Regions from separate parts of the Homo sapiens genome. Here region 1 is linked to region 2. Evidence: promoter capture Hi-C in human tissues and cell types (Jung and others, 2019). All regions are on one chromosome and are shown on one strand. Each heading gives the region's core, a stretch centred on a gene start or on the middle of the fragment in contact. The rest is flanking DNA. Distances are from core to core; before and after follow the strand shown.

Region 1 (5,196 bases), core at 835-3,334, 560 kb after region 2:
CCTGGATAACATAGTGAGATCCCATCTCTACAAAAATAAAAAAAATTAGCTGGGCATGGTGGTGCATGCCTGTAGTCCCAGCTACTCAGGAGGCTGAGGTGAGAGTTGCTTCAGCCCAGGAGTTGGGTTACAGTGAGCTATGATTATGACACTGCACTCCAGCATGTACAACAGAGTGAGGCCCCCGTCTCTAAAAATAAAATAAAAGGGCTGGGCATGGTGGCTCATGCCTGTAATCCCAGCACTTTGGGAGGCCAAGGCGGGTGGATCACTTGAGGCCAGGAGTTTGAGGCTAGCCTGGCCAACATGGCGAAACACCGTCTCTACTAAAAATACAAAAATTCGCTGGGCGTGGTGGTGGGCACCTGTAATCCCAGCTACTTGGGAGGCTGAGGCAGAATTGCTTGAACCAGGAGGTGGAGGTTGCAGTGAGCCGAGATCGCGCCATTGCACTCCAGTCTGGGTGACAAGAGTGAAACTCCATCTCAAAATTAATAAAATAAAATAAAATAAAATAAAATCAGGCCGGGCACAGTGGCTCACGCCTGTAATCCCAGCAGTTTGGGAGGCCGAGGTGGGTGGATCACCTGAGGTCAGGAGTTCTAGACCAGCGTGACCAACATGGTAAAACCCTGTCTCTACTAAATAATAATAAAAAAAAAAATTAGCCAGGCATGGTGGCACATGCCTATAATCCCAGCTACTTGGGAGACTGAGGCAGGAGAATCATTTGTACCTGGGAGGCAGAGGTTGCAGTGAGCCTAGATTTCGCCATTGCACTCCAGCCTGGGCAAAAAAGAATGATACTCCGTCTCAAAAAATAAAATAAATAAAATAAAAATAAAATCAATAAAATAAAATGCCACAATGTGTCCGGGAACAGTGCCTCATGTCTGTAATCCCAGCATTTTGGGAGGCCAAGGCAGGAGGACTGCTTGAGCCCAGGAGTTTATGACCAACCTGGGCAACAAAGCATGACCCTGTCTCTATTAAAAAAAAAAAAGAAAAGCCACAATGGGAGAGAATGTTCAGCCACATTTGCTGAATGAGTAAAGAGGTAAAAGCTTTCTGTCAGGGGCATGGATAAATTGAACTTTGACTTTGAAAACAAACCCTTGGGCTCACCTAAAATCTCTACTAAGATTTCCCTTCCCAGAACATCTCTTGGGGCTGTAGAAGAAAAACAAGCAGACACTCCCACCCCAGCTCTTACACAACTGATATGTCAGGTCAGGGCAAAAAGAGGAGATCCGCCAAACACAGGAGCTAGTCTAGGGTAGGGATGTGTCCATTTAGGTTCCACGCTAAAGTAAAAAACAAAGGGAAGGACAAAGTACTCTAAAAGAAGGTCCTAGATAACATCTGTAGAAGGAAATACAGGTTGAGTATCCTTATTTGAAATATTTGGGACCAAAAGTGTCTGATTTTGAATCTTTTCAGATTTTGGAATATTTGCATTATACTTACTGCTTGAGCATCCCTAATCTGAAAATCCGAAATCCTCCAATGAGCATTTCCTTTGAGTGTCATTTTCGTGCTCAGATTTTGGACTTTGGATTTGGGATGCTCAACCTGCATACAACTGAGGCTCACTTCTAAATAATAAAGATTTCAAATCATTTCCTAATCACTATTGCCCCTGGCAATGATTGACTATCTTCAGTGTTGTCTCATGTAGGTGCAAAGGACTGTTAGCCAGGGAGGAGGGAGAAACAGAGGAAAGGGATGCTGTCGGTCTCCTTTCTACCCATTCCAACTGAAACACCCCAAGAAAAATGTAGCAAGTTTCAAGTCCTTTTCTCTCCTCTCCCACAAATTATGTGGCAAAGGATATGAGTAATTCTCGAAAATAAGGGGACACAATGGGGATGAGGAAGGAAGATCGCTGGAATATCCAATTTACCATGACCCTGAACATGTCCAGGGTAGACTGGTTTAGCCAACTCTCAAGTCAAACACAAAAACCTGCAACCTGCATTTGTGTTTTCCTTTTGAGACGGCGTCTCACTCTGTCACCCAGGCTGGAGTGCAATGGCACAATCTTGGCTCACTGCAACCTCTGCTTCCCGGGTTCAAGCGATTCTCCTGCCTCAGCCTCCCAAGTAGCTGGGATTACAGGTGCGTGCCACCATGCCCAGCTAATGTCCCCCCCTCCCCCCACTCCGAGACAGAGTCTTGCTCTGTCACCCAGGCTGGAATGCAGTGGTGCGATCTTGCCTCACTGCAACCTCCGCCTCCCAGGTTTAGGCGATTCTCCTGCCTCAGCCTCCTGAGTAGCTGGGATTACAGGCGCGTGCCACCACGCCCAGCTAATTTTTGTATTTTTAGTAGAGATGGGGTTTCACCATATTGGCCAGGCTGGTCTCAAACTCCTGACCTCGTGATCCGCCTGCCTTGGCCTCTCAAAGTGCTGGGATTACAGGCGTGAGCCACCACGCCTGGCCCTAATTTTTGTATTTTTAGTAGACAGGGCTTTGTCATATTGTCCAGGTTGGTCTTGAACTCCTGATCTCAAGCGATCTGCCCGCCTTAGCCTCCCTAAGTGCTGGGATTACAAGCGTGAGCCACCACGCCTAGTCTGTATTTGTGTTTCCTCAGTTGGCACTGAAGAATTCACTAGCCCCTCCACCCATATCTGTATTCTCAATTTTTGATTCTTCCCTAGGTGTGAACAAAGGATAGAAAAACGTAACATTTAAAAAAGGAAATGTACAGTTGGCTCTGTCTGGGGGTTCTGCATCTATGGATTCGACCAACCACAAAAGTATTCAGGAAAAGGTAATAAAAAAATTAAAAGTAACACAAATTTCAAAACATACTGTATACAACTATGTACATAGCACTCACATTGTATTAGGTATTAGTAATCTAGAGATGATTTAAAATTTACTGGATGATGTGTGTAGGTTATATGCAAATACTATGCCATTGTATGTAGGGGACTTGAGCATCTGTGGATTTTGGTATCCATGGGGGTCCTGGAACCTGGTATCCTTCATGGATACCGAGGAGGGTTGACTGTAACTGCAATGATCAACTTTTACATAGATGTTGGCCTTCTTATCCTCTTCCCCTCAAACTTGTAACTAAGCAAAGGCTTCTCCTTTCTTTCCCCAGCAATTAATTAAAAGTAACTGATAGTTTTACACTGCACTTGCTTCTTTGCTTTAGAGTGCTTCTATTTCCTTCTACATGGGGAAGACAGAACAGGATGTTTACTTAAGGGCCAATATCTCTCTTACTGATGACCCTCTCGTAGCCTTGCCTATGCAGCCTCAGTGAGTTATTACTTAGCAATTGTGAACAGCAGCTGACCGGACTTGTCCATACAGTTACTCATAAACAAGTATGAGAAACGCCCCAATACCCCAAAACCCATTCTGATTGTGTTTGCATTGCTACGTCTACATACATGAAGGAATAACTCATCCCTGCTACACAAGATTGGCTTACATTAAAAAAAAAAATTAGGCAGAGGAAATTATGAATAACATGCCCAGAAAACCTTATGAGGAAGTCTCAAAGCTGTTGCTTCTTTAGGGGTAGATATAGAAATCAGGTGGGCAAGTCAAGGTCCCAAGAGACAAGGAAAAAAAGGGTGAGCCAGATTCCAGTACAGTGGTACACCCTACCTGCTGGGTGTGTTCCCAGGCCACTGCTATTTAAGTGTCTGGTGACACATGTACGTACCTTCACATAAGCAAGGCTGCTATTTAGAGCCTTCTACCCTGCCAGTGACCCAGGCCTGGCCCAGATGCAGTGACTATCCCTCTTTACCCCTTACAGCCAGCATTCCAACCCAGCCTCACTGGGTTATGAACAAGGGATGGGGTAAGACAGAAGGGTTAAGTGTGGCTTCTGCACAACAGATTGCCAATATGCAGTAAGGGCAGATGTGGGCAAATAATTGGCCAGAAGGATCCCTGCTACCACCCCAAACCCCCAATTCTATGCTTGCTTTAAAAATGCTTCTTGGCTCACAGTTGCACAACCTTTTGAAGACATGCACAAAAAATTATTAATACAGTATATCCCACTTCACCAACCACTCCCTGAACATCTAGAACTCACCCGACCCATTATCCCTTTCCAAAATTCAATTACACAAAGGATCAAACAGAAAACCCACAAGGCCATAAAGATCTTAAGAGGCTCAGATTGCCTTCAGTGACATTAAGTGCAGAAGTCAAAGGGGACATCTGGAAAAGATCAACAGGAGGGGAAAAGTCAACCACACAACAAAGGAAACCATACTTTATTAAACTGGAAAACAAAATAATGGGGACAAAGGGATTAAAAAAAAAAGGAACGTCTGGAAGAGAGTAAAGTGCAAGTGGTTACGAAGTGGGTGGTCTGTGGTATCTCTGTGTGTGCCTGAGAAATGTGTGGGCGCACACACCACTACTCCCACCCCCATACCCTTGGACCAAAAGCCAATACAACCATATCTTCTGAGATATATCCAGGCTTTTCCTTCTGCATTCTCTAGTTGGTTTCACCTTCGGCCCTGGACAGTCAGGCTGGGTCTTTGCTAGAGAAAACTTAGGTTTTCCAACCACAGGCCTGCTCCACAAAGCAGCGGTTTCAGCTCCTGAGAAGTTCCCTCCTATTTGCACTCACTAGGAAGCCAGGGGCCCCTGGTCCAAGCCCGTCTCAAAGAAAAATGTCAAACCTTTCAAACTAGTTATTTTATTAAACGATATTAACACACATTTCAAAAGGATTTCATTGTTGTTGCTTCTAAAGCATGTACTTGTTTTGTTTTCCACACCGAACACGTGAGAATATCAATCCAACATATCTATTTTAGATCTTAACAGGCGCCCCCGCCCACTTAAAAAAAATAGTGGGGGAACTGGGGAAAGCAGTAATTTACAGCGGCTTCAAAACAGTAACAGCTGAAGCTCAATTCTGCAGGAACCGGTAACTTCAGGATTGAGAGTGAATATCCTGCCATTAGGAAGTTTATCGTATTCACATTATCTCGATAGGTTTGCTGGACCCATATATATCACAAACATTTTATTCCTGGTATTGGAAAGTATAAAAGTCCTATTCTCTGCTTATTTTCCCCTCCCTGGAATCAAACCAAATTCTATTTACTCTCAACTTTTGAGAGGGTAGAGGGGAGCAGGGAGAGAGCTCTCATCTAAGCTGACTGAAGAGTAAACTCTTTCAAAATACTTAAGGACCCTA
Region 2 (5,310 bases), core at 566-3,065:
GCTGCTTTTTTTTTTAATTGTTTTTTTGAGACAGGGTCTCACTCTGTTGCCCAGGCTGGAATGCAGTGGCACAATCACAGCTCACTGCAGCCTCTACCTCCAGGGTTCAAGCGGTCCTCCCACCTCAGCCTCCCGAGTAGCTGGGCCTACAGGTGTGCACCACCACACTTGGCTAAATTTTGTATTTTTGTAGAGATGGGGTTATGCCATGTTGCCCAGAGTAGTCTTGAACTTCTGAGCTCAAGTGATCCACCTGCCTCGGCCTCCCAAAGTGCTGGGATTACAGGCATCAGCCACCACGCCCGGCCTCTGTTTTCTTTTTCCCATTTTTTTCCTTCAAGTCCTAATTCACCATCCCTGTGTCCATTTGCTTTTTTTTTTTTTTTTTTTTTTTTTTTTTGAGACAGAGTTTCACTCTTGTTGCCCAAGCTCGGGTGTAATGGCACAATCTCAGCTCACTACAACCTCTGCCTCCCAGGTTCAAGTGATTCTCCTGCCTCAGCCTCCCGAGTAGCTGGGATTACAGGCATGTGCCACCACACCTGGCTAATTTTGTATTTTTAGTAGAGACGGGATTTCACCGTGTTGGTCAGGCTGGTCTCAAACTCCTGACCTCAGGTGATCCACCCGCCTCGGCCACCCAAAGTGCTGGGATTACAGCCATGAGCCGCCGCGCCATCCCCTCCGTCCATTCGTGACCACCCCTCCCTTCTCCCAGCCACCCTCACACGTCCTCACCTAGGGAATTCTTCATCCTGCCATTCCTCCTTCAGCTCCAACTCCCCATGTCTCAGGGCTGCTCCTAGTTCTGGTGCTTCTGCAATCTCCCTGACCCTAAGACAGCCCCCAAGAAGAAAAGATCAAGGGAACTGAATAGTAGGTAAGAATAATTGAAATGAAGAACAGTAATTGAGATACAGAGCAGAGGATAGGCCTTCAAAAGGACTCAGATCTCTTGCCTCCTATACAGATGCTTCTCTTACCTTCACCACTTGCTAGAAGCAGATTACCTGCTGTTAAGTTTGGGAGCAGACGAAAGATGGAATGTAAAGTTAATCATATTTACCTCTGTAGCAGTTGCTCCACCTACAAAGTTGGGGTGAGAGATGTCCCACATTACAAGTGGCTGGAACCCAGCTAGACCCACCCAGCTATCATTGAGCAAAGTCGGGAAGACGGTACCTAGTTAGGCCTGCCTTTCCTCCACCGAGCTGGGGAGTGGCTAAGGGAAAACATGGCATAAGTGGAGGGGTGGAGGAAGAAGGTAAGGAGAAAGATTTGCCAGAACGAGAACCTGGACCTAAACTCGGTTCTGGTTCAGCTTTCCTGATGGCCATTCTGGAGGGTGAGGGTTAGAAAATAAAAGAACACAGGCAGATTTATCAGGTACAACATATTACAGAAACTTCCTTTATTTTTAAACCAGGGAATTATCCTGGAATCCTGTTCCCCAGTTCCATACCATACTGACATTTCCTACCTAAAACCACCCTCATCTCTTCTCTGCAAACTCTCTTACAGTCTTGTCTCCTTGAGGAACCCGAGATTTGACCCAGTAAGAGCTGGGTGGTGGGGAAGTCTCTCCGGACTGTTTATTCACTGTTACCAATCAAGTGAGCCAAGATCTTACTTACCCAACATCTGTCTTTTTTCCTGCCTCTTGTATAGTTCCCATCTTCACAAGTCTTCCTGCCTCCTTCTTTAAACACCTAGGAGTTGTTGGGGAGCTGGTTGTCCCAGCCCCCAACACTTCCTTACCTCTTTTCTGTCTCAGCTGTTGTAGCTCTTGCCTCCAAGGAGGGAGGTGTGGAAGGGAGGTAACCTCATCTTCAAAACAGGTTTTGCCACTCCTCTCCCCAGGAGCAGGTTTGCCCAAAAGAAAAACCCTGCCTCCTGTGAGGGGGCGGGTTTTGGGGAGGAGAGTGCATTTTCTAGTGGGGGCCAGTCTCGGTTGAGTCTAGGAAGGCAATTTGTTCTCCTTTCCAGACTCCATATATCCCTCTCAAAGTTGCTCTTTACACAAATAAGCAAAAAAACCAGTAGAAACCGTTGTGTTTCTGGCCGGGCGTGGTGGCTCACACCTGTAATCCCAACACTTTGGGAGGCCAAGGCAGGCGGATCACCTGAGGTCGGGAGTTTGAGACCAGCCTGACCAATGTGGAGAAACCCCATCTCTACTAAAAATCCAAAAAAAAAAAAAAAAAAAAAAAAAAAAAAAAATTATCTGGGCGTGGTGACACATGCCTATAATCCCAGCTACTTGGGAGGCTGAGGCAGGAGAATCGCTTGAACCTGGGAGGCAGAGGTTGTAGTGGGCTGAGATTGTGCCATTGCACTCCAGCCAGGGCAAAAAGAGCAAAACTCCATCTCAAAAAAAAAAAAAAAAAGAAAAAGAAACCATTGTGTGTGTTTCTAGGACTGTTATCTTGGATCTACTTTTCAAGCATAAGGAAAACTGGGGAAACGGAAGTATGTTATAAGGAGGTTTCTGGGAGAATAAACAAGTTGAACGGGAGGCTGAGGATGAGGGGAGACAGAAGCCTGTTGCTCCTTATTCCCAAAAAGAGTCAACAGAAAGAAGACATTAAGTATAGTAGGAAGAAGGGGGATCAATTTTGAGGAGACTGAAACAACTATCACAGAGAAAGGCCTGAATACACTTGTAAAAAAAGACAGTAAGACCCCCAAACAGGAAAAAATTATTTAATAGTATAACAAAATGCAAAATAAAGTACCCAAGTTACAAAACATAAATTCCTTTGGTTCATGATCACACCACTATTTTTACCTTCCACATAGCTACAGACATCACACCCTCAAAGTGAAGTCAAACTGTCCCCCTCATACTGAAGATGTCATGCCAAAACCATCACATACCCCACTGTTCAGTGAAACTGTTGGCAACTTACATGGAACAGAGCTGTGGGGTAGGAAAAAGGGGAAAGGGTTGCGTTAAAAAAAATGGGGAGACTCTACACATGCAGAACAAGTTAGTGGGAGGGAGTGCTCTGCTGGGTCAACACGCCATGAACCACACCCCTATTCGTGCTACATGAGGCTGAGTCCTTGCTACAACCACACAGAAATACAGACAATCAAGTGAACCTGAGCACCCCCAGGGATAACAGAAGAAAAATACAGAGAAGCAGAGGAGAGAAAGAATGGCAGCAAGAGGCAGATCACAGAATACCAGGGAACACCTAGTCCAAACCCTGTTTTACAGATGGGGAAAGTGAGACCTGGAGTAGTGAAGTGTCTTGCCAAAATACATAGTTTATGGGAGCATTAGAACTCCATGCTTCCTTTTAATGTGAGCAAGGAAAAAAAGAGATTGACAAGAAATTGATAGGCCTGCTAAGGCAGGAGACAGACCCAGGCCTCTCATTCCAGTTCTGTTGTCTTTTTGGAAGAGTGCCTATGAGGTCATTAAGGCCTTTCTGGGTGTTTTCTTGATTCTCAAGAGTCAGGGTTCTGGGTGGCTCTGGGACAGAGGGATCCAAAGAAACAGCCAGGCCACCTGATCAGGACAGAAGACAATGGCCTCTAATCTGTTCCCAAACTAGATCTGAAACAGTCACAATAAGCTAAGAATAGAAATTCAGCCATCTCTGAATCAAACACCATCACCTAAATGGTGGCAGAAAGAAAAGTCACCGAGCTGATAATCTGCTGTAGGCTGAAAACTGGAATAAATTTCCAAAGCGCACTCTCTTTTCTCTCTAGCTTGAGGCAGGTATTCAATAAATACTTGAATGAACAAGTGAATAAATGAATACATGGAGACCATCGATGAATGTTCAGTTCCATGACAGATACTGGTTCTGTTCAAGATCCATGCCGAGGACACTTTTGGGGTCTAAATTCTTTTTGTCCCACTGTGCTGGGACTGCAGATATGTCACATCGTGCCCCTGGCAAATAAAATAGAGAGAGGTGCAGATTTAAATAATAAAATGTGTCTGATTGGTAGAGATTAGGGGGAAAAGGTGGAAAACCATTCTTAAAGCAGCTGCTTTCTTTCACTTTTTTTCTCCTCTCAGTTTTATGAGAACAGTATACCAGATCCTGGAGCAATGAAGACAGAATTGCTGAATCTCCAAACATCTCAAAACATGCATTTGAAGTGAGTCAGGTAGCCTCACCCACTACCTCCTCGCCTCTCAACAGTCACTTCTTGGACAGGGAGGCTGTGGTAGACTGTGACAGTGAGATCTGACTGCACTTCTCGAAGACGGCCTCAGCAGAGAGTTTAGGCAGCCCCTGATCTAGAGGGCACTCATCCACCAAGCTGTTCATGGGCGTCGGGGGCAGCGGAGGGTCCTCCTCATCTTGACTCAGGCCAGAAATCAGGGAGTTACTTGCCCTGTCCAATTCCTTGTCCACTTGCTCCCTGGACACATCTGCTGTCTCAGGCTGTCCTGAAGGGATCTTCATGGAGTCAAAATATGCTGACAGGGCTTCCTGGAGCAGGGGCAGAAGTTTCTTTCGAGAGACCTGGGTGTTGCCTTGAAGATAGGCATGGAGGTTAGGGTGGGTACTTGAGGCAGGGGTCAGCTTCAGGGGTGGAGAGTGGGAGCGTTCCAGGACTTCACAGATCTAAAGAGGAGACAATAACAGGGAAATGATACACAACTTGCTGTAGCAAAGTGCTGGGCTTCTAAGTGAGAGGCTTCCTCTATAGAAGAGGAAGCTTTTAAAAAGTAAGTCGGCCGGGCGGGGTGCGGTGGCTCACGCTTGCAATCCCAGCACTTTGGGAGGCCGAGGCGGGTGGATCATGAGGTCAGGAGATTGAGACCATCCTGGCTAACACAGTGAAACCCCGTCTCTACTAAAAATACAAAAAATTAGCCGGGCATGGTGGCGGGTGCCTGTAGTCCCAGCTACTCGGGAGGCTGAGGCAGGAGAATGGCGTGAACCCAGGAGGCGGAGCTTGCAGTGAGCGGAGATCGCGCCACTGCACTCCAGCCTGGGCGACAGAGCAACACTGCATCTCAAAAAAAAAAAAAAAAAGTAAGTCAGCCGGGCGCGGTGGCTCACGCCTGTAATCCCAGCACTTTGGGAGGCTAAAGGGGGCCGATCACCTGAGGTCGGGAGTTTGAGACCAGCCTGACCATCATGGAGAAACCCCATCTCTACTAAAAATACAAAATTAGCCAGGCATGATGGCGCATGCCTGTAATCCCAGCTACTTGGGAGGCTGAGGCAGGAGAATCACTTGAACCCAGGAGACAGAAGTTGCAGTGAGCCAAGATGGTGCCACTGCACTCCAGCCTGGGCAACAAGAGCGAAACTCCGTCTCAAAAAAAAAAAA

Evidence for each region. The method cuts DNA at HindIII sites, captures the fragments that hold promoters and counts their contacts. A contact is called where the count stands out against the background at its distance.
Region 1: a contact is called between a fragment that was not itself captured here and the fragment with the promoter of BNIPL in region 2, in 1 of the 25 tissues and cell types used here (lymphoblastoid cells).

Annotation. Positions count from the first base shown.
Region 1 is chr1:150,476,044-150,481,239 of GRCh38, reverse strand. RPRD2 (regulation of nuclear pre-mRNA domain containing 2) reads right to left here. Exons shown (of 11, transcript NM_015203.5): 11 at 4,674-5,196. Among named protein-coding and RNA genes, the nearest start is that of TARS2, 8.8 kb to the left of the region's middle. The HindIII fragment of the contact is 7,423 bases long and covers 1-5,196 here.
Region 2 is chr1:151,033,091-151,038,400 of GRCh38, reverse strand. It overlaps BNIPL (BCL2 interacting protein like), which reads right to left and starts at 1,815. Exons shown (of 10, transcript NM_138278.4): 1 at 1,635-1,815; 2 at 739-834. The coding sequence starts at 1,675. It overlaps PRUNE1 (prune exopolyphosphatase 1), which reads right to left. Exons shown (of 8, transcript NM_021222.3): 8 at 2,688-4,595. The coding sequence ends at 4,167. The HindIII fragment of the contact is 8,096 bases long and covers 940-5,310 here.